7 separate regions of the Homo sapiens genome follow, and regions 2, 3, 4, 5, 6 and 7 are each linked to region 1. The links are contacts of gene promoters, found by promoter capture Hi-C in blood cells and fetal thymus (Javierre and others, 2016). All regions are on one chromosome and are shown on one strand. Each heading gives the region's core, a stretch centred on a gene start or on the middle of the fragment in contact. The rest is flanking DNA. Distances are from core to core; before and after follow the strand shown.

Region 1 (2,776 bases), core at 102-2,601:
TGACAAGATGATATGGCTGTTGCTGGTCCAGGAACCACATTTTGAGAACCACTGTTCTAAATGACTACCGAGTCCTGCAGGTTTGTCTTCAAATCTTTTAAGTGCTGTTTTCCTTGCCTTCCCTCGCCTGACTGCTCCACGTTTTAGCTACAATGGCTTTATTTCGAACCCCGGATCCCGCTTCCCATCTCAACGCTTTTACAGGAGCTGTCGCCCCTGCCTGGGCTGCTCTTGCCATATCTTTCCTCGCCTAGCATCTGCCATCAATCCGGCCTCAGCGGGAACGGCGCCTGCTTTTCCGAGTTTTGTTTGTTTCTTTGTGTTAAAGGCAGCCGCTAGGCCGCGCTCCACCCCAAGCCCAGTGGCTCAGGAGCATTGCCCGGTTAAGGTCTACACAGTCCTCGCCCTTACAGACAGCGGGGTCTGCGCCTCGTTGTCGGGTTCCCCGCTATAAACCCGACTGCAGTAGGCGTTGGCGGAATGAACGGAAAGTTCTCCCTGGCTCATTTTTCTACCCACGGACAGGGCTGGCTGTTCCCAGGGACGTGTGCCATCGCCGTTTGCTATCGCCCTTCTTGCCATCTCATTCAAGCTCACGGCCGAGAAGTTTTTCTTGAAGTAGGCCCTAAACCCCGCCCGGCCCCAGCGCTCCCCGTCACTCCCCCGCCGCCCGTCGCCTGGGAAGGGCGCGGGCCTCACCTGAGGGCCCAGGGCCGCGAGGCGGAAGCCCAGCCCTGGTCTTGCGCGGCCGAACTCACCTCAGCATGTCGGGCTCGGCGAGGCCCAGGCGCGGGGCTAGGCGCCCGATCAGCTCCGACCCCATGGCGCCGGCACTAAAGCGAACAATTCCCGTGAACGCCGCGGGTCAACGAAACCCGCGCGCAAAGGCTGCACCGGCCAGTGAGAGCCAGGCCCCACCCCCGGCGCATCTGGATTGGTTAGGACAGGACGTTGAGACCGTCCCACAAACCAATCAGGGTCTTCCTTTTGCGCATGCGCATCAATAGCGCAATCGCCAACGCAGATGCGGTGAACGTGGACTTGTCGGCTCCCCCTCCTTCCATTCCTTCTTGACAAACTCATCACACACTGCCTTTCCCTCCTGTTGTCTCCTGCCTGCCGCCGGGCGATCCCCACTGCCCTGCACTGCTCCGCCCACTCTCGCACGCTGTGGTGAGATTGGCTGGCGCTCAGGTCCGTCCATCTAGCGTTAAGTGACAGGGCCAATAAGCACGCGAGACTCGGGTTCCTAGAAGTAGGCCAATCAATGAGCCGCCTGTAGGGCCCGGGGGCGGGGCTAGAGAGGGCGGGGCTTGGAGGGGCCGCAGCGTCACATGACCGCGGGAGGCTACGCGCGGGGCGGGTGCTGCTTGCTGCAGGCTCTGGGGAGTCGCCATGGTGAGTGCTGAGGGGGCAGTGGCACCTGGGTCGACCCTCCTTGTAGCCCCTGCTCTCTCCCACCGCCCCGCACTCCAGCGAGTGGAGAAGGGGCCCCACAGACCGTTCGGGATTAAGACCAGCCCGATTTGGCCTGCGGGATAGGGGACAGCAGGAGGAAGGCCGCGGGCAGGCTGATCCGGGCCGGGGTGGGCGGCGGCTCTTGGCTGCGGCCGTTGCTGAGAGACGGGGCGGCCTCTCTGTGGGGTTGACTTGGCATGTAGGCTTTGGGGTCCATGAAGGCCTGCGGCCTCCTTTAAGTGGAATCGGTCACCTGCCTACCACGAGGGGACCGGTAGTCCTAGGTCTGAGCGTCTGGCCCCCGGGGCGCGTGGAGGCCCTGAGACTCGGAGGTGGCGCCGGGACCCGCCCAGATGTTGCGTTTCTACCTTTGTGCCTAGTTGTGCTCGGCCGTCCCCACGCCCTCCTGGAGGGGTCGCAGTGATTCCTTGGCCTTTCTTGGCCTCATACCCGCCTTCGGCTGCAGTGTTTGTCAGCGAGTTCTGGGGACCTGCTTACATGAATTTCCTGGAAGGACTCAGGCTGTCTTCTAATCCTGACGGTCGCAAAGGAGACTGATTGTTTACTTTAGCATTTGTGCATTGGGCGCACCTTGCCTCTTTTGTCTCGCCATTGATAAAATCCAAGTATTTGACTTGCTGGAAGCAGTACTTCTCCTTAGGGCCCGTCTATGACGGCAGCAAATCGTGGTGTGGCTGTTGGCCGGTAAACTTGAACTTCCTCAAAATGTGAATCTTTGTGTCTGGTTCCCACAAAGGCAAGTTGTCACTTGCATTTTATTAGCGTTTAACATAGCCTGCACTGTGTAAATAAATTTTTTGAGTATATACTGTATGTCCGCTTTAATTACCTTACTCACTCTGTGTAGATAGGCTTCTGTAAATCTGTAAGCCTGGAAACAGATTTCACTTTAAATGTCTTAATGCCAGAAAGGATTAAGTGTTTTACAAATACTATTTTCATATAACGTGTTGCCGTACAAGGTGATTTTGCCTGTTTCTCAGGATTTTTATAATTGGGAATTGATACAAGACCGGCGCAAAATTTAACTTTAGGATTTGTGTGTTTCCAGCGTTTATGGATTGACATTTATATTGTTTTGTAATGGAAAACACTTAATTGAGGATGTATTACACACTCCGATTCTTTGTTGGGTGAACCAGTTGGGAGCAATCAGCCAGACACACAGTCTTGTCCTCATGAATTTTATTGGGAAAGGAAACTTGAGTATTCGTTCTTTCACAGTCACTGTCTATAATTTAGGCAGCTCGCTTAGTCTTCTTGGTGTCGCACTTTTGCATCCGAAAGCAAGTGTTGG
Region 2 (2,776 bases), core at 173-2,672, 1.9 Mb before region 1:
TATTGCCTGCTCCCCCACTGGAATATCAACCTCACGATCACGAGGGCAGGGAATTGTCTTCTTTTTTTTTTTTTTGGTCTCTTTTAACACTGATGTATTCCAAGCACCCAGAAAGAACCCATGATAGACATTAATAAGTATCCTGAATGAATAATACACCTCAGCCATTCCATGCCATTTGAAACCCAGACATTCTTAAGGTTCAGCGTTACTCCCACTTTCCATAAAAACCAAGTCCTATAGGCTGCCTCTGCATATCACCTCTCTGATCAATTTTATCCTCTCTATGTCCCCAAACATTGCCTGCATTTGAGGCTCTGTCATCTCCCTCTAGCTATGACATCAGCATCCTATCTTTCCTTTCTTTTTTTTTTTTTTTTTTTTGAGATGGAGTTTCACTCTTGTTGCACAGGCTGGAATGCAGTGGTGCCATCTCGGCTCACTGCAACCTCCGCCTCCCAGGTTCAAGTAATTCTCCTGCCTCAGCCTCCTGAATAGCTGGGATTACAGGCACACACCACCACGCCCAGCTAATTTTTGTATTTTTAGTAGAGACGGGATCTCACCATGTTGGCCAGGCTGTTCTTGAACTTCTGACCTCAAGCGATCCACCTGCCTCAGCCTCTCAAAGTGCTGTCTCTCTGTTCTCAATCCTTTCCCCTCCAACCCACCCTACAGAGAGAGGACCTCACAGTGTTAATGTCCTGCTTAAAACCTTTCTATGGCAGGCGGGCATGGTGGCTTACACCTGTAGTACCCCGGGAGACTGAGGCAGGAGGATGGCTCAAGCCCAGGAGTTTGAGTTCAGCCTGGGCAACATAGTGAGACCCTGTCTCAGAGAAAACAAATTTATGAGTTTCAAGTCAAGGCTAAATTGGAAAAAATAAAATAAATTTAACCAGCCTCTCTATGGCCCCCATGGCCTTCTCAGGAAATCCAGTCTCCAGTGGTCCTGAAGCCTTAAGTGGTCTGGACCCACTTCCTGCTGTGCCTGCTCATCCTCACACCATCCCCCACAACATTCCTCAGGCCTGCAGAACATCTTACTGCTGGCCACAGAGCTCTCCTGCAGACATTTTCATCTTCTGCTCTTTCTGCTGAAAATGATCTCCCTGCGTCTTTTTTTTTTAAGAGTCTTGCTATGTTGCCTGGGCTGGTCTTGAACACCTGGATTCCAGATATCCTCCCGCCTCTGCCTTCTTGGTAGCTAAGATTACAGGCATGAGCTGTGCTATTCAGGTTCCCCTGCCTCTCATCAGGCTTGTTCCTACCTTCCTTGGGGACGTCCTCCAGGAAGCCTTCCTTAGCTTCACACCAGGCTGGGTGAGCTGCCTCATATCTGTGTTCACATATCAACTTGTGCTGATCTTGGTCGGCTTTTCTGACTCGGCCATGAGATCATGTGAGCCTTGAGGACGGAGTTTTGTCTTATTTTATAATCCCAGTGAGGCTGGGTGCAGTGGTGTGCATCAGTAAACCCAGGTTCTGCAGTGAGCTATGCAGTGAGCTATGATAATATCTGTGAATAGCCACTACACTCTAGGTTGGGCAACAGAGCAAGACCCCATCTTTAGAAAATAAAAACAGGCCAGGCACAGTGGTTCACATCGGTAATCCCAGGACTTTGGGAGGCCAAGGTGGGTGGATCACCTGAGCTCAGGAGTTTGAGACCAGCTTGGCCAGCATGGCAAAACCCCATCTCTACTGAAAATACAAAAATTAGCTTGGCACGGTGGCGCATGCCTGTAACCCCAGCTACTCAGGAGGCTGAGGCTGGAGAATCGCTTGGACCTGGGAGGCGGAGGTTGCAGTGAGCTGAGATCGTGCCACTGCACTCTGGCTTGGGTGACAGAGCAAGACCCCATCTCAGAAAAAAAAAAAAAGTAAATAATAAATAACAAAACAAATTAAATTTATTATTTAAATTTTTTAAATAACAAATGATAATCCCAGTGAGGATACATCATCTAAATAGTAGGCACTTAGTAAATAAGAAGGGAAGGAAAGCAGGAAGAAGGGAAGAGGGAAAGCAGAAAAGAAGAAAGAAAGGTCTCAAATGCTCAGCTCTCTTTCTGGGCACATGGTGGGGCTGCACCTCTCCACCCACTTGAGCTCGTGCACGGCCATGTGATCTGCTTTGGCCCATGAAGTATGAGTGAAAATGACATGTGTCACTTTTAGGCAGAAGCAGACAGGTCAGTCTGTGGTCTCCATCCTCTTTTTACTGCCTGCTGGGTCACAGAAGCACTTGTTGAGATGGAGTCTCTGTCACACAAGGCCCCTGAGTGACTAAGACAAGCAGAGCCCCTGGTGGACCTGCAGTGGACACACAGCATGGGGTGAGAAAGACACTCTGTTCTTTTGAACTGCTGAGAGTTTAGGGTTTATTATTAACCTAGCACAACCACGTCTCTTCTTTTTTTTTTTTTTTTTTGAGATGGAGTTTCACTCTTGTTCCTCAGGCTGGAATGCAGTGGCGTGATCTCAGATCACTACAACCTCCACCTCCCAGGTTCCAGCGATTCTCCTGCCTCAGCCTCCTGAGTAGCTGAGATTACAGGTGCCCACCCAAAGTACTGGGATTATGGGTGTGACCCACCTTGCCCAGCCACGTCTCTTCTTTTCTTTTTTAATTTCAACTTTTGTTTTAGATGCAGAGGATATACATGCAGGTTTGTTACATGGGTATATTGCATGATGCCGAAGTTTAAGGTACGATTGATTCTGTCACAAGCATAGGACCCAATAAGTAGTTTTCCAACCCCTGCAGCTCTCT
Region 3 (2,776 bases), core at 142-2,641, 1.9 Mb before region 1:
TGGCTGCAAATAATATTTTATTTTATATATCACTAGCCATGATTTTTTGCCATTACTTATTATACAAATGCCACCTAGTGCCATTATCCAATTGGCATAACCATTTTACATCCACAATTCACTTCTATAGTTATAAGTAGAATTTTCGTGATTTACATATCTATCAGTGAAGATTTAACACTGAGATGCAATCTAACATCTGTAATATCTGATGTTTTGTAGATGGCAGTGTAGGAAAGATATATTTTAATCACTTTTCATTTAAGTGACCTTATGTAAAAAATAATTTAGCAGTTCCAAGTCTCCAAAGGGCATTTTCAAATGTACATAAAAGAAATGGTTACAGAGATTTTTAAGAAGCATCTTCCATGTCCACATTCTCTTGTAACTGCTGTACTGTTTTCTCTTCCAACTGCTTCCCTTTGCCTGCAAGAGGAACTCAGATAAGATGGATGTTTTGCTTGACCTGTTTGATATCCTGAACTTTCTGTAGCTCTTATTTTTCTTCAATCTGTTCATTATAAATTTAGCTTGGCGTTTCTGTTTGATCTCTTCAACTGTCTTCATTGCTTCAGTAGTTTTATTCCATAGCTCTCACTGGTATTTGATGGTTTCATTTCTATGTTTTTCATATTCAAATGAATTATCCAGTGTAAGCTCTTTGCCACCTGCTTTCCGGAATGCTTTGGTCCACCTAACTTTGCAAGGATTGTGCTTCTTTTTAAAGTTTTTATGACATTTAGATTTACAAAATCTGAACACCTTTCAGTCGTTGCGGATGAACATCATGCCGTGGCCAGGGTAGATGGGCCCAAACAGAAATAACACTTCACAGTACACATGTTAAACCTGCATGGGTCACCACCAACCAAATGCCAAGCTTGAGAAGAATCAGCATATTTAATTCACAGTATGTTTCATTCTTGACCCTGGTATTTTTTAAATTAAGAAAATGAAATTGTTACTTTGTTATAATAGGTAGGTTAATGAAGGTTGATGTATCTCTATTAGGTAATGAATTTGCCTGCAATAATAGAAACCTATACAAAATAAGGGTTTTCTTTCATTTAAAAAGTCAAAAGATAAGCAGCAGTCCAAGGGTGAGTAATGATTACAAACTGTACCCTTATGGTCACAAAATGACCACTGCAGCTCCAGCCATCAGGCCTTTAAGAAGGAAGGATGGAAGAAGAGGTAACAGTTTTCCAGAAAACCCTAGCAGGTTTCTGCTTACCTCTAATTGGCTAGAACTATATCATGTGACCACTAGTAGTAAAGCAAGCTATGAAATGTTCAGTTTTACCTAGGCACATCGCTACCCTAAACAAAATATGGATTACATTATTTTCCATGTGTTTTAAAAATTATAATTCCTAAAAAGTGAGCATATAGCAAGCATTCATTTAACTCATTTGTGAGGGAACCAGCTGGATTGGAAAACTGGTTCAAGGAGCATTGGAGGAAATGAGTACAGGTGCTGAAAAAACAGTGTTAGAATAAGATTGCTAGATTTGGGTACAAAACTGGTGAATGTCCTTGTGAGAATGTAGGAATAACTGACACAGTTTCTCCTGCTTATGTGGACTCTAACATGCTTCTAACACAAGATGTGTGGGAGTTTTCCTCTTACCCTCTATTTTGCCAGAATTTGTGAAAGAACAACCATGCCCCCATTAGCTCCTTAGGAATTCTGACATAGGGTTTAAAAACAGTTGCAGTTAACTTGCTTAGGAATCATCCCTGCTTAGTGCAACTGTAGTTGCAGCCCTGGTCCTGTGACCACTGTATCAGATGGGGATGAGGGGCGGGGGCAGTGGGAATCGAGGTGTTACTGGAAAGAAAGAAAAAATTATAGTTATTATACCAGTATACGACTCAGATATACCAGTTCTCCAAGCTTGTACCCTAATTCCATCAACCTTACTTTCCTAACTTTAGCCTCTGTTAGGACTTTATGAACCGGTTTTGGTTTTACAGTACTAGGTAGGGGAAGTGTTTCCCTACCAGACATAACATCCATTTCCATAAAACATTCAAGTAAAGGAGATACAACTTTTTAACTTAAAGTGTGTTTATTACCATTCCAGTTTATATAATCCTGTCAACCCTTACCTTTTCATATTCTCCCAATCTAGTAGCCCTAGTCGGGGCTTTCTTTGCCAATGGATCATAGGACTCCTATATCAAGGAGTTTCAGGGATTTATCTTCACCACCCCAGAAGGTTTTACCCACTTGTGTACAGAGGCTCTGAGTCCCCAGCCAGAGGGTAAGCAAAGGGACACTTGTGCTTTATCAATTTTGCCTTGATTAATCTCCCTAGGCAATTTCAGGTCAGATTTCTCATTGTAATCTTTGCCTTCTGACTTTAAATTTCTCCAATGTGGGGCAAATTGAGGGACCAAGAGGGGATCCCTTAGACATACCTTATTTTTCAGTGGTGTTGTATTAAAATCTTTTAGTCTCATTAATTTCATTTTATTCATGCCGTATCTTAATAACCACCCTGCTGAGAGGAGTCCTGTGACTCTCCACCTTCTTTTCCTTTTTTGTATCACCCCTATCAATGATTTTTTTACTCACCTTATTAATGATCCCTTAAAAATTTTCCTGGAAGGAGTCCTTTGACTCTCCTCCCTGCCTTTTGCCATTATTTTGTTAATTAATGTTTTTATTAGTGTCTGTAAGACCTAATGAAGCTGAGGAAGGAAACATGATATGGCTTCCTGAATTTTGTGGTTTTGCAGCAGTAAGGTTATGTGAGGGCTTCCACCCTAA
Region 4 (2,776 bases), core at 86-2,585, 1.9 Mb before region 1:
TCTGGACATTGGCCTTCTTGGCATCAGAGGAAGTGCTGAGGCTGTGGTCATGGCTAGGAGTCACATTCAACAATTTGTAAAGCTCTTTGAAAATAAAGAGAACCTACCCAGTAGTCAGAAAGAATCAGAGGTGAAAAGGGAATTCAAACAATTTGTTGAAGCCCATGCAGACAATTACACAATGGATTTGTTGATTTTGCCCACTTCCTTGAAAAAAGAACTTTTGACACTCACACAAGGTGAGGAGAATCTCTTTGAAACAGGAGATGATGAGGTTATTGAAATGAGAGATTCTCAACAAACAGAGTTTACACAGAATGCTGCCACAGGGCTGAATATTTCTAGAGATGAAACTGTTTTGCAGGAAGAGGCAAGAAATAAAGCTGGGACTCCTGTTTCTGAGCTTACAAAACAAATGGACACAGTCCTTTCTAGCTCACCAGATGTGCTTTTTGATCCAATAAATGGTCTAACCCCAGATGAAGAGGCACTTTCCAATGAGAGAATTTGTCAGAAAAGGAGATTTTCTGATTCTGAAGAAAGGCATACGAAGAAGCAGTTTTCTTTGGAAAATGTTCAGGAGGGGGAGATTTTACACGATGCTAAGACATTGGCTGGAAATGTAATAGCTGACCTATCTGATTCTTCTGCTGATTCTGAAAATTTAAGTCCAGATATAAAAGAAACTACTGAGGAAATGGAATACAACATCCTCGTAAACTTTTTTAAAACCATGGGCTACTCCCAAGAAATTGTTGAAAAGGTCATTAAGGTGTATGGACCATCTACTGAACCATTATTGCTCTTAGAGGAAATTGAAAAAGAAAATAAAAGATTCCAAGAAGACAGAGAATTTTCAGCTGGTACAGTGTATCCAGAGACCAACAAAACCAAAAATAAAGGTGTTTATAGCAGCACAAATGAGCTTACAACTGATTCCACTCCAAAGAAAACACAGGCTCACACACAGCAAAATATGGTAGAAAAATTTTCTCAGTTACCATTCAAAGTGGAAGCTAAACCATGTACCTCAAATTGTAGAATTAATACTTTCAGAACAGTGCCAATAGAACAGAAACATGAAGTCTGGGGTTCAAACCAGAACTACATTTGTAACACAGACCCTGAAACTGATGGCCTTTCACCTTCTGTTGCCTCTCCAAGTCCCAAAGAAGTCAATTTTGTTTCAAGGGGAGCTTCAAGTCACCAGCCCAGAGTTCCACTTTTTCCTGAAAATGGTTTACACCAGCAGCCAGAACCCTTGCTTCCAAATAATATGAAATCTGCCTGTGAAAAACGTTTAGGATGTTGTAGTTCTCCTCATTCTAAGCCAAATTGCTCAACCCTTTCTCCACCAATGCCACTGCCCCAGCTGTTACCTTCGGTTACTGATGCAAGGTCGGCAGGACCTTCTGATCATATTGATTCCTCAGTTACTGGGGTTCAAAGGTTTCGAGATACTCTAAAAATACCCTACAAGCTGGAATTAAAAAATGAACCAGGGAGAACGGATTTGAAACACATTGTTATAGATGGGAGCAATGTTGCAATTACGTAAGTCCATTCTCTGCAGATTATTTTATTTTAAATAGGGCTCTAAATGGTGTCTCAGAATCACATGTATATGGGAACTATACATACATGTTGTATATAGTTGATCTGTAGCCTTAGGGTCGGATGGTGGAGGGGAATGGGAACCAACTGGTTGGAAAGGTTTTGTCAGTCCATCTTCTGGATTCATGAACTTTACTTCACCCTGCTGAACTTAATTTCTAAGGGCAAGAGAGGATAGAAAATTATCTTTTCACGTTGCATTGCTCAGTGATATGTAGTATAGTGACTTTTAAGTCATTAAATTCTTAATATTGTGAGTACCATTATGTTCTAATCTAAATAAGAGAACACAGCTTAAAGCAAAAGGATTTTTTTTTATCTTATTATGCTGGAGTATGCCTGATCTCTAGCCAAGAGTGTGCAGTGGTAACAGGTGTGATGTATTTCTGTGGATAGAGCAATGGCAATTTCCTTTCAAAAGTAGTCACTTTGAGCTTCACTGTGGGCCTCTGCTCTTACTAAAAGTTTATAATATTTGTTTTTAGTAAAAGACATCATTTAATGAACCTGTTGTTTCTAGTTAGCCTGTCTTGGAACTCCTCTTAGTTGAAAATCCTCTGATTTGAAACCTGTACGCTTGGGTTTTTTTTCTAAGGGGCAGTTTAAGATCGTGGCTAAGGAGAGTGTGAGGGTCAAGAGCCTCCCTGCACTGTGGACCAGCTGTTTGATTTGGGGCAGGTCACTTAACTGTTCGGAGTTTCAGTTGCTGCAATCTGTTGCCTTCTGACCTGTCCTTAAGGACATCTTTACCATATCATTTCAACAACTATGTAAAGTCTGCCTTCAGTTTTCAAAACCAGTCACCCCATTGTTAAAAGAAAAACTTAGGGCAAATTACATTTAGCAGAGTTGATCTGCACGAACAATGATTTACGAATCTGGCAGCACCCTGAACCAGGAGAGGTTCAGAGAGCTTCACCCAGCAATGAGGGCTGGCAGTATTTATAGGCAGAAAAGGGAATTGCCCTGCAGAAACAGCTTGATTACCTACGGGTTGGCATTTGCCTTATCCAGGCATCCTGTGATGAGGCATTTGCCTTATGTAGAAGTGGTCTGAACAATTGGCAGCCTGTGATTGGCTGAAGCTTGGCTGCTGTGATTGGCTGAGACTCAGCCATTTTTTTTTACAAGAATACTCTTAGGTTGCCATTTGTTCACATAC
Region 5 (2,776 bases), core at 108-2,607, 1.7 Mb before region 1:
AGGATTTACACTTTGTTTTGTGTCTGTACTAGTTTCCTATCGCTGCTTTAACAAATTACTGCAAACTTAGTGGGTTGCCACAACATAGATGTATTATATTACAGTTCCAGAGGTCAGAAGTCTAAAATTAGTCTTATGGGGCTAACATCAAGGTGTCGGCCGGGCTGACCCCATGTGGATACTCCAGGGAAAGAATCTGTTTCCTTGCCTTTTCAGTTTTCTAGAGGCCTCCTGCATTCCATGGCTCATGGCCCCTTTCTGGGTCTCTCTGACCTCTGCTTTTGTTGTTGTTGTTTGTTGAGATAGAGTCTTGCTATGTTGCCCAGACTGGTCTCAAACTCCTGGGCTCAAGTGCTTCTCCTGCCTTGGCCTCCAAAGGGATTACAGGTGTGAGCCACTGAGCCTGGCTCAGACCTCTTGTTATCACGTCTTCTATCTCTTGGCCCATGGGATAGTCCAGGATAATGTCTTCATCTCAAAATCCTTAACTCAATCACATATGCTAAGTCCTTTTTGCCACATAAAGTAATTTATTCACAGGTTCTGGGGATTAGGTTGTAGACTTTTTTTTTTTTTTGAGATGGAGTCTCCCTCTTGTTGCCCAGGCTGGAGTGCAGTGGCACGATCTTGGCTCACTGAAACCTCCACCTCCCAGGTACAAGCAATTCTCCTGTCTCAGCCTCCCGAGTAGCTGGGATTACAGGCATGCACCACCATGCCTGGCTAATTTTGTAGTTTTAGTAGAGATGGGGTTTCTCCATGTTTGTCAGGCTGGTCTCAAACTCTCGACCTCAGGTGATCCACCCGCCTCCGTCTCCCAAAGTGCTGGGATTACAGGCATGAGCCACCGTGCCCAGCCAGGCATTTTTTTTTCTTTTTAAGACCAAGTCTTGCTTTGTCAACCAGTCTGGAGTGCAGTGGTGCAATCTCAGGTCAGCAACCTCTCCACCTCCCAGGTTCAAGCGATTCTCCTGCCTCAGCCTTCCAAGTAGCTGAGACTACAGAAGTGTGCCACCACGCCCAGCTAAATTTTTTTTGTTATTGTTGTATTTTTAGTAGAGACAGGGTTTCTCCTGACCTCAAGTGATCCACCCACCTAGGCCTCCCAAAGTCCTGGGTTTACAGGCGTGAGCCGCCTTGCCCAGCCTTGAGCCTGCTTTCTCATTCAAATATCACATAGACTTTAGACTGGCCGCGGTGGCTCGTGCCTGTAATCCCAGCATTTAGGGAGGCCTAGGTGGGTGGATTGCTTGAGCCTAGGAGTTTGAGACCAGCCTGGGCAATATGGTGAAACCCCGTCTCTACAAAAAATGCAAAAATTACCTGGGTGTGGTGGCTATTTTGAAAGCTGAGGCAGGAGGATCGCTTGAGCCCAGGAGGTCGATGCAGCAGTGAGCTCTGATCGCACCACCGCACTCCAGCCTGGGTGATGGGGCAAGACCCTGTCTCAAAAAAAAAAAAAAAATTCTCCCTTTTCTCTACCCCAACTCCACCTAGTTCCCCTTTCCTAGTACTTTTTGCCAGAAATAACCCCTTTAACCATTGCAGCTTTAATGCGTCTAGCGGTCACCACTGTACCCTAAGTGTTATAACTTTTGTGTGCATGTGTTTTTTGAGATGGAGTTTCGCTCTTTCGCCCAGGCTGGAGTAAAGTGGCACGATCTCGGCTCACTGCAACCTCCGCCCCCTGGATTCAAGCGATTCTCCTGCCTCAGCCTCCCAAGTAGCTGGGATTACAGATGCCTGCCACCACCACACCTGGCTAATTTTTGTATTTTTAGTAGAGATGGGGTTTCGCCATGTTGGCCAGGCTGGTCTCGAACTCCTCACCTCAGGTGATCCACCTGCCTCAGCCTCCCAAAGTGCTGGGATTACAGGCATGAGCCACCGCACCTGGCCATTTTTTCATTAACATAGTGAATTGCAGGTAGTTGTTTAGATAATGTAAAATATACTTTAATTCATCCTTCTAAAATTCATTAAAATGAAAACCCTGAATTGACAAATTCTCATAAAGGACTTGAGGGCCCTGCAGATTCATGTGTAAGCCCTCCTGGATGAATATGAATCACAGATCATGTTTCTCCTCAGCTGTAAGACACGATGAATGAGGAAGGAGCAAAGGCTCTGGGGCCAGACGGACCTGGATGTTAACTTCCACACCTCCACTTATTAGTACATGCCATGGGAAAGTTCTTTATCCTTTCTGAGTTTCCATTTCCTCATCTGTAAAATGGGAAAGCAGTGCTCACTTCATATATTTGTTAGTATTAAATTAAGTAACCCGCCTGGCACGGTGGTTCACACCTGTAATCCCAGCACTTTGGGAGGCAGAGGCGGGCAGATCACGAGGTCAAGAGATCGAGACCATCCTGGCTAACACAGTGAAACCCCATCTCTACTAAAAATACAAAAAATTAGCCAGGCGTGGTGGCGGGCGCCTGTAGTCCCAGCTCCTCGGGAGACTGAGGCAGGAGAATGGCGTGAACCCGGGAGGCGGAGCTTGCAGTGAGCCGAGATCACGCCACTGCACTCCAGCCTAGGTGACAGAGCGAGACTCCGTCTCAAAAAAAAAAAAAATTAAGTAACCCATGAACTTGTGCGTGTGTTAAGCATTTCTTGAATGCTAAATGTTTCTAAATGCTAGTTTCTCCAAGATAATTTGGAAAGAAAGTCAAATATCTACTAACAATGAATGAAAGGATGTAAAAGAGAAACTGGAAACAGATTCCATAGACCGTGATAGTTAAGGGCATGGTCCTTGTTTAATATTTCT
Region 6 (2,776 bases), core at 106-2,605, 1.7 Mb before region 1:
TACCTATATATTTTGGAAAATGCTTTAGCATATCAGAAGGTTATCTGCAAAGGGTTGAGAATGAAAATGGCATTAGGCTTTTCTTTCACTTACATCATTGAATAGCAGAAGACAGTGGGCATAGCTTACTTAGTTCTTAGAGAAGAGAGTTGTGACCAGGATTGTAAGCTGTGGAATTTATGCAAGAGCTTCAGACTTAGACTAAGATGGAGAGTTAATCACTTACGTAATCCTTTCAGAAACTTTCTTTGAAGTATTGTGATCACACCACAAAATTAAGGATTCAGGTGTAGTTAGGTTTGATTAATTGCTTTGACAAAGTTAGGAGCTTAGTACAATCTTTATTGTGCCTAGTGGGAAAGGGAAAGTTTTACTATTGGCATGTTGAAGGGCTTGCATTGTTTTAGGGGGATCTTACACTTTATTTATTCTTTCCCAGACAGGGTCTCACTCTGTTGCACAGACATAGCTCATTGCAGCCTTTACATCCCAGGCTCAGATGAGCCTCCCACCTCAGCCTCCCAAATAGCTGGCTCTACAGCGGATGCCACCACACCCAGCTAATTTTTTTGTATTTTTTTTGTGGAGATGAGGTCTCAGTATATTGCCTAGGCTTGTCTCAAACTCTTGGGCTCAAGTGATCCTCCCACCTCAGCCTCCCAAAGTGCTGGGATTACAGGTATGAGCCACCAAACTCCATGTATATCTAATGTTTAGCTTGGGTGGAAGCCTCAAAATAAAGTGACTTAGCAAGTGTTGTATTTTGCTTTGAACACATTTAAGTCGGGATTTGCCTTTCCTCTTTGTCTTCTGTTGACAGCAGCTTTCCTGGGTTTCCCTCATCTCCAGTAATCAATCTTTCTATACCTATTCAGTGTAACTTCTTCTGTAGCTGCAAAGTTTTCAGAATTATCTTCAGGAAAAATGGAGGTTTTAGGAAAAACATACAATTTTTAAGAAATCATTTTATTGCTTTGCTACAGTTCTGGAAGCTATAGATTGTTTAATTTATTGTCCTTATAACAGTGTTTGATTTTTTAACTTTTGGCATTTTAACTTGTTGAATTTTTAAGAGACTTGCTTTGATTTTGTCATTGTGTAAGAAGCAAGTAAGTCTTCAAATAGAAGCAATGTTTAATTAACATTTTAACGTAAAACATTTTCTACATAATACCTGCCACAATGTCAAATGAGTTTGGAAAATACCCTTTTAACCTAAAGGCATTCTGGGAACAAGAAAAGCCTTAAGTGTTTTGAATGGAGGAGTTTTATTTAATTAAGATTTCTAATGGAAAGAGCAAATTTGTAATCTGATACCTATAATTTTATTTTATATTTTATTGTTTCTAAGAATAATTTTTGTTTTACTAGAGATGGGGTAGTGATAATTGCATCCTACCCTTTCTTTTTTTTTTGAGATGGAATCTTGCTCTGTCGCCCAGGCTGGAGTGCATGCAGTGGCACGATCTTGGCTCACTGCAGCCTCCGCCTCCTGGGTTCAAGTCGATCTTGGCTCACTGCAGCCTCCGCCTCCCAGGTTCAAGTGATTCTTCTGCCTCAGCCTCCCAAGTAGCTGGGATTACAGGCACACGCCACCATGCCCGGCTAATTTTTGTATTTACTTAGTAGAGACAAAGTATCACCATGTTGGCCAGGATGGTCTTGAACTCCTGACCTCAGGTGATCCACCTGCCTTGGCCTCCCAAAGTGCTGTGATTACAGGCGTGAGCCACCACGCCCAGCTGTTTTTTGTTGTTGTTGTTTTTTACTAAATTAAGAATAAACATGTTTTACTTTTTGCTCATTTTGACTGTTTTCACAGTTGTTAATCAGACTAATCTTTATAAAGCAGTTTATTGTCCCCTTTGGAGAAAATACAGCTAAAAATCACCAGTATCCTCATATAGGTAACTGATTCATTGGTCTGATGTTGTAGCCCTCTTGGTTTCTCACCCCGTCCCTCACGTCTGTGTTCTATTTGTAACTTCATTTACAATATATTATGATTTTTTTCCATATCTGACTACATTTCTCCATTTTAAACTTTTATAAGTAATTTATAAAAGGAAACAAAGATTACCACGTGGAATTGAGAATAAAAGTTTATCTTTCTACTGTTAAGTATGCTAAGGTGGTAAAGCAATGGCTGAATGCTCTGAAATTACTAAGACAACATTAAAGGCTGATTCTAAAATGTTTTTGTTTAGATTGACATCTACTTAAACTATATACCAAACTGGGCTTGGGACGTAGGCTTTAGAAAGTGTAGGTAATAGTGCATTCTTGCTAAGTTTTGGATTTTTGCCAGTTTTGGATTCTATGGGCTTGTCTTAAGGTACTTCTGTGAACTTTTCAGCTTTTTGTAAAACTAGTGTAAATATTCTACCTAGTTGAGAATTAAGGTTTATTGTGCTAAAAATTAAATGGTGGTTGATTCTTGGCAGACATGTTTGATCACCTTTGCAAGGTTAAGGCATCTTTTGGAGTGTGTTTCTTGGAATCTACAAATTCTGAGTCTGTGACTAATTGATGACTTGGCAATTAAATCAGGTCTCAGCTGAAAACTTAAATATTCTGGAATATGTACCATCCATGATACACATAAATTACCCATCTCAATCTAGACAAAAGCCAGTTGAGGCTGGAAACAGTCCAGTTTTACAGCTCAACAACTGGTGGAGCCGGGGTCTGAATCCAAGTGTAGATGACTCTAGAATGCTTCCACTTTTCTGACTTAATTAAGTAGAGGGGCCTGTCCATAGATCAGTGGTTTTCA
Region 7 (2,776 bases), core at 134-2,633, 1.6 Mb before region 1:
TTTGTGGTGATGCTTGGTGTACACAAACCTATTGTGCTGCCAGCTGTATAAATGCACAGCACGTACAATTACATACAGTACATAATACTTCATAGTCATAGTGAGTGACTATGTTATTGGTTTATGTACTTACTATGCTTCATTTAAAAAAAATTTTTTATTCTTATATATATTTTTAGAGGTGGAGTCTCGCTATGTTGCCCAGACTGGTCTTGAACTCATGGGTTCAAGCAATCTTCCTGCCTCAGCCTCCTGAGTAGCTGGGACTACAGGCACACACTATCGTGCCTGGACTATACTATGCTTTTCATCATTATTTTAGAGTGTACTCCCTTCTGTAAAAAAGAAGTTAACTGTAAAACAGCCTCAGGCAGGTCCTTCAGAAGGTAGAAGGCACTGTTATCCATGCATGTTACTGCCTCTGAAGACCTTCCAGTGGGCCAAGATGTGGAAGTGGAAGACAGTGAAACTGAAGATCCTGACCTAGTTCAGGACTGGGCTAATGTGTGTCTGTGTCTTTGCTTTTAACAAAGAAGTTTAAAAAGTAAAACAATTTTTAAAAAAGCTTATATACAGTAAGGATATTAACCCATTTATGCCAGAAGTTGTGAATTTTTTTTTGTGAAAAATCAGACCTTGGCAATGACCTTGAGCAGTAGGATATAAATAACTCCCACAAGCTTAGTGTTCCAATAATGGAGCACTAGGCATAAATGGGGTAAAAATATTTTTTGTATAGCTATACAGTGTATTTGTGTTTTAAGCTGAGTGTTATTATAAAAGATTTGAAAAGTTTTAAAAAGCTGGGTGTGGTGGCACACACCTGTAATCCCAGCTACTTAGGAGGATGAGGTAGAAGGATCACTTGAGCCCAAGAGTTCAAGACCAGCCTGAGCAACACAGCCTGTCTCAAAAAAAGAAAAAGAAGTAAAAAAAAAAAAAGAAAAAAATTAAAAAATACAGGCTAAGTGTACAGTGTTAATAAGTCTATAGTAGTATATACACAGTAATGTCCTAGGCTTTCACATTCACTCCCACTCACTTGCTGACTCACGCAGAGCTACTTCCAGTCCTGCAACTCCATTCATGGTAAGTGCCTTTATACAGAAGTACCAGCTTTTATTTGTTGTTTATTTTTTCTTTATTGTTCATCTGTTGTTTAGATATACAAATACCACTCTGTTATAATTGCCTACAGTATTCAGTATAGTCACATGCTGTAGAAGTTTATAGCCTAGGATTAACAGGCTATACCATATAGCCTAGGTGTGTAGAAAGCTATACCATCTAGGTTTGTGTAAGTACACTCTATGATGTTTCCACAATGACAAAATTTCCCAGGGATGCACTTCTCAGAACATTATCCCCATCATTAAGCAACGCATATGACTATTCAGTAAATGCTAGCTGACTCACTGATTGAATAAACTGGTATAAACAAGGGCCCAAAACATAGGAATCCATCTTTAGTACCAGACAAGAAAGTTTGCACCCCTGTTTTCAGTGGGTTTTATGTATTAATAAATCTCATTTCCTGTATTAGAGATTCAGAAAATATTCCTAGACAATTATTTAGATGAGTAGTTAAAATGCAGAGACCTTTTGTAATATTTTTTTTAAAACCATTAAGTATTGCTTTAATACTCTTGTAACTTGAGTTTGTTTTGATAATGTATAACAATGACAACCAAAGGTCACTGCAGGCCGGGCGCGGTGGCTCACGCCTGTAATCCCAGCACTTCAGGAGGCTGAGACAGGTGGATTTCTTGAGCTCAGGAGTTTGAGAACAGCCTGAGCAACATGGCAAAACCTGTGGTCCCAGCTACTCTAGGGACTGAGGTGGGAGGACAGCTTAAGCCCGTGAGGTGGAGGTTGCAGCAAGTTGAAACCAGGCCACTCCACTCCAGTCCGGGTAACAGAGCCAGACTCTGTTTTAAGGTCAATGCATTTTCCTATATGATTCATTTAACAGAATGATGACTTTATAATTATTTGATAATATTTTATTTTCCTGTCCCCAATTGGAATTCAAATAACAAATGTTTGGCTCCTATTATAGTTAGATTTTTGCCTTCATTGAAGCTTCCTCCCGGTCTGTACAGGCAAACAAGTCTCTCTTAAACCAGGCCAATATTGATGAGGGATAAATCAGTAAATCAGTGTAAATGTCAGACTCAGAAAATAATATTTAGTATATCTTCATGATATTGGCAGTATATACCAACATGATATTTTCACCTCAACGTTAGACCACCGCCTGATTTTAGAAGTTTGGACATAGCATACTGCCTAGTATCCCATCAAATGCAATGGATTTAGCACAGAAAGTGTTACTCTCTAGATCTATTTTTTTTTTTTAATAATCTTGGCTTATTTGTAAAATCCAATTAGCTCTAACAACACTACAAACCCCTGAAGCTTAGTACCAATGAGCCAGTGCCTAAACTCTTGTCTCTGAAACCCATATTCCTCAACAGCAACCTTAGTTCCTTGGAAAATTATAAATTCTTATTTGTCCTGAGCTACTAATACAATCAAAGGAAAGGTAAGAATGAACAAGATGAAACAAGACTTTAAATACTGAAAATGCAAAACCGAATCCAAACTTCTAACCCCTATCTGTGCAACCTGGGTCTTTGATAAGAAATCAGCTCAAGTTTGATGGATATTCTACAGTATAAACTTCAATGCGGGCTTAGAAAAATTCTTTTTTTTTTTTTTTTTTTTGAGACAGAGTCTTACTCTGCTGCCCAGGCTAGAGTGCAGTGGCGTGATC

The links. Contacts are between HindIII fragments. The CHiCAGO score rates a contact against its expected background, and 5 or more counts as called.
Region 2: a fragment that was not itself captured here is called in contact with the fragment with the promoter of VPS35 in region 1 in 4 of 17 cell types (naive CD4 T cells, naive CD8 T cells, activated CD4 T cells and 1 more); the score reaches 6.8 in naive CD4 T cells.
Region 3: a contact is called between a fragment that was not itself captured here and the fragment with the promoter of VPS35 in region 1, in 1 of 17 cell types (naive CD8 T cells). The highest score is 5.5, in naive CD8 T cells.
Region 4: a contact is called between a fragment that was not itself captured here and the fragment with the promoter of VPS35 in region 1, in 1 of 17 cell types (neutrophils). The highest score is 5.1, in neutrophils.
Region 5: a contact is called between a fragment that was not itself captured here and the fragment with the promoter of VPS35 in region 1, in 1 of 17 cell types (total CD8 T cells). The highest score is 5.4, in total CD8 T cells.
Region 6: a fragment that was not itself captured here is called in contact with the fragment with the promoter of VPS35 in region 1 in 1 of 17 cell types (fetal thymus); the score reaches 7.6 in fetal thymus.
Region 7: a fragment that was not itself captured here is called in contact with the fragment with the promoter of VPS35 in region 1 in 5 of 17 cell types (non-activated CD4 T cells, naive CD4 T cells, total CD8 T cells and 2 more); the score reaches 10.0 in non-activated CD4 T cells.

The regions. Positions count from the first base shown.
Region 1 is chr16:46,687,753-46,690,528 of GRCh38, reverse strand. It overlaps VPS35 (VPS35 retromer complex component), which reads left to right and starts at 1,351. Exons shown (of 17, transcript NM_018206.6): 1 at 1,351-1,398. The coding sequence starts at 1,396. ORC6 (origin recognition complex subunit 6) reads right to left here and starts at 870. Exons shown (of 7, transcript NM_014321.4): 1 at 759-870. The coding sequence starts at 823. RefSeq lists enhancers at 47-116, 167-246, 484-1,182, 1,183-1,880 and silencers at 587-886, 1,207-1,446, 1,597-1,646. The HindIII fragment of the contact is 9,040 bases long and covers 1-2,776 here.
Region 2 is chr16:48,632,062-48,634,837 of GRCh38, reverse strand. The region is part of intron 1 of LOC105371240 (a long non-coding RNA gene); the gene reads right to left. Among named protein-coding and RNA genes, the nearest start is that of N4BP1, 23 kb to the right of the region's middle. The HindIII fragment of the contact is 5,727 bases long and covers 1-2,776 here.
Region 3 is chr16:48,598,229-48,601,004 of GRCh38, reverse strand. The region is part of intron 1 of N4BP1 (NEDD4 binding protein 1); the gene reads left to right. It also overlaps the pseudogene LOC105371239. Among named protein-coding and RNA genes, the nearest start is that of N4BP1, 11 kb to the left of the region's middle. The HindIII fragment of the contact is 1,017 bases long and covers 883-1,899 here.
Region 4 is chr16:48,559,532-48,562,307 of GRCh38, reverse strand. It overlaps N4BP1 (NEDD4 binding protein 1), which reads left to right. Exons shown (of 7, transcript NM_153029.4): 2 at 1-1,554. Among named protein-coding and RNA genes, the nearest start is that of N4BP1, 49 kb to the left of the region's middle. The HindIII fragment of the contact is 2,732 bases long and covers 1-2,701 here.
Region 5 is chr16:48,389,888-48,392,663 of GRCh38, reverse strand. No RefSeq gene overlaps it. Among named protein-coding and RNA genes, the nearest start is that of SIAH1, 5.9 kb to the right of the region's middle. The HindIII fragment of the contact is 5,448 bases long and covers 1-2,776 here.
Region 6 is chr16:48,367,382-48,370,157 of GRCh38, reverse strand. All of the region lies in intron 1 of SIAH1 (siah E3 ubiquitin protein ligase 1), which reads left to right. Among named protein-coding and RNA genes, the nearest start is that of SIAH1, 17 kb to the left of the region's middle. The HindIII fragment of the contact is 6,116 bases long and covers 1-2,776 here.
Region 7 is chr16:48,320,111-48,322,886 of GRCh38, reverse strand. The region is part of intron 11 of LONP2 (lon peptidase 2, peroxisomal); the gene reads right to left. Among named protein-coding and RNA genes, the nearest start is that of SIAH1, 64 kb to the left of the region's middle. The HindIII fragment of the contact is 1,402 bases long and covers 683-2,084 here.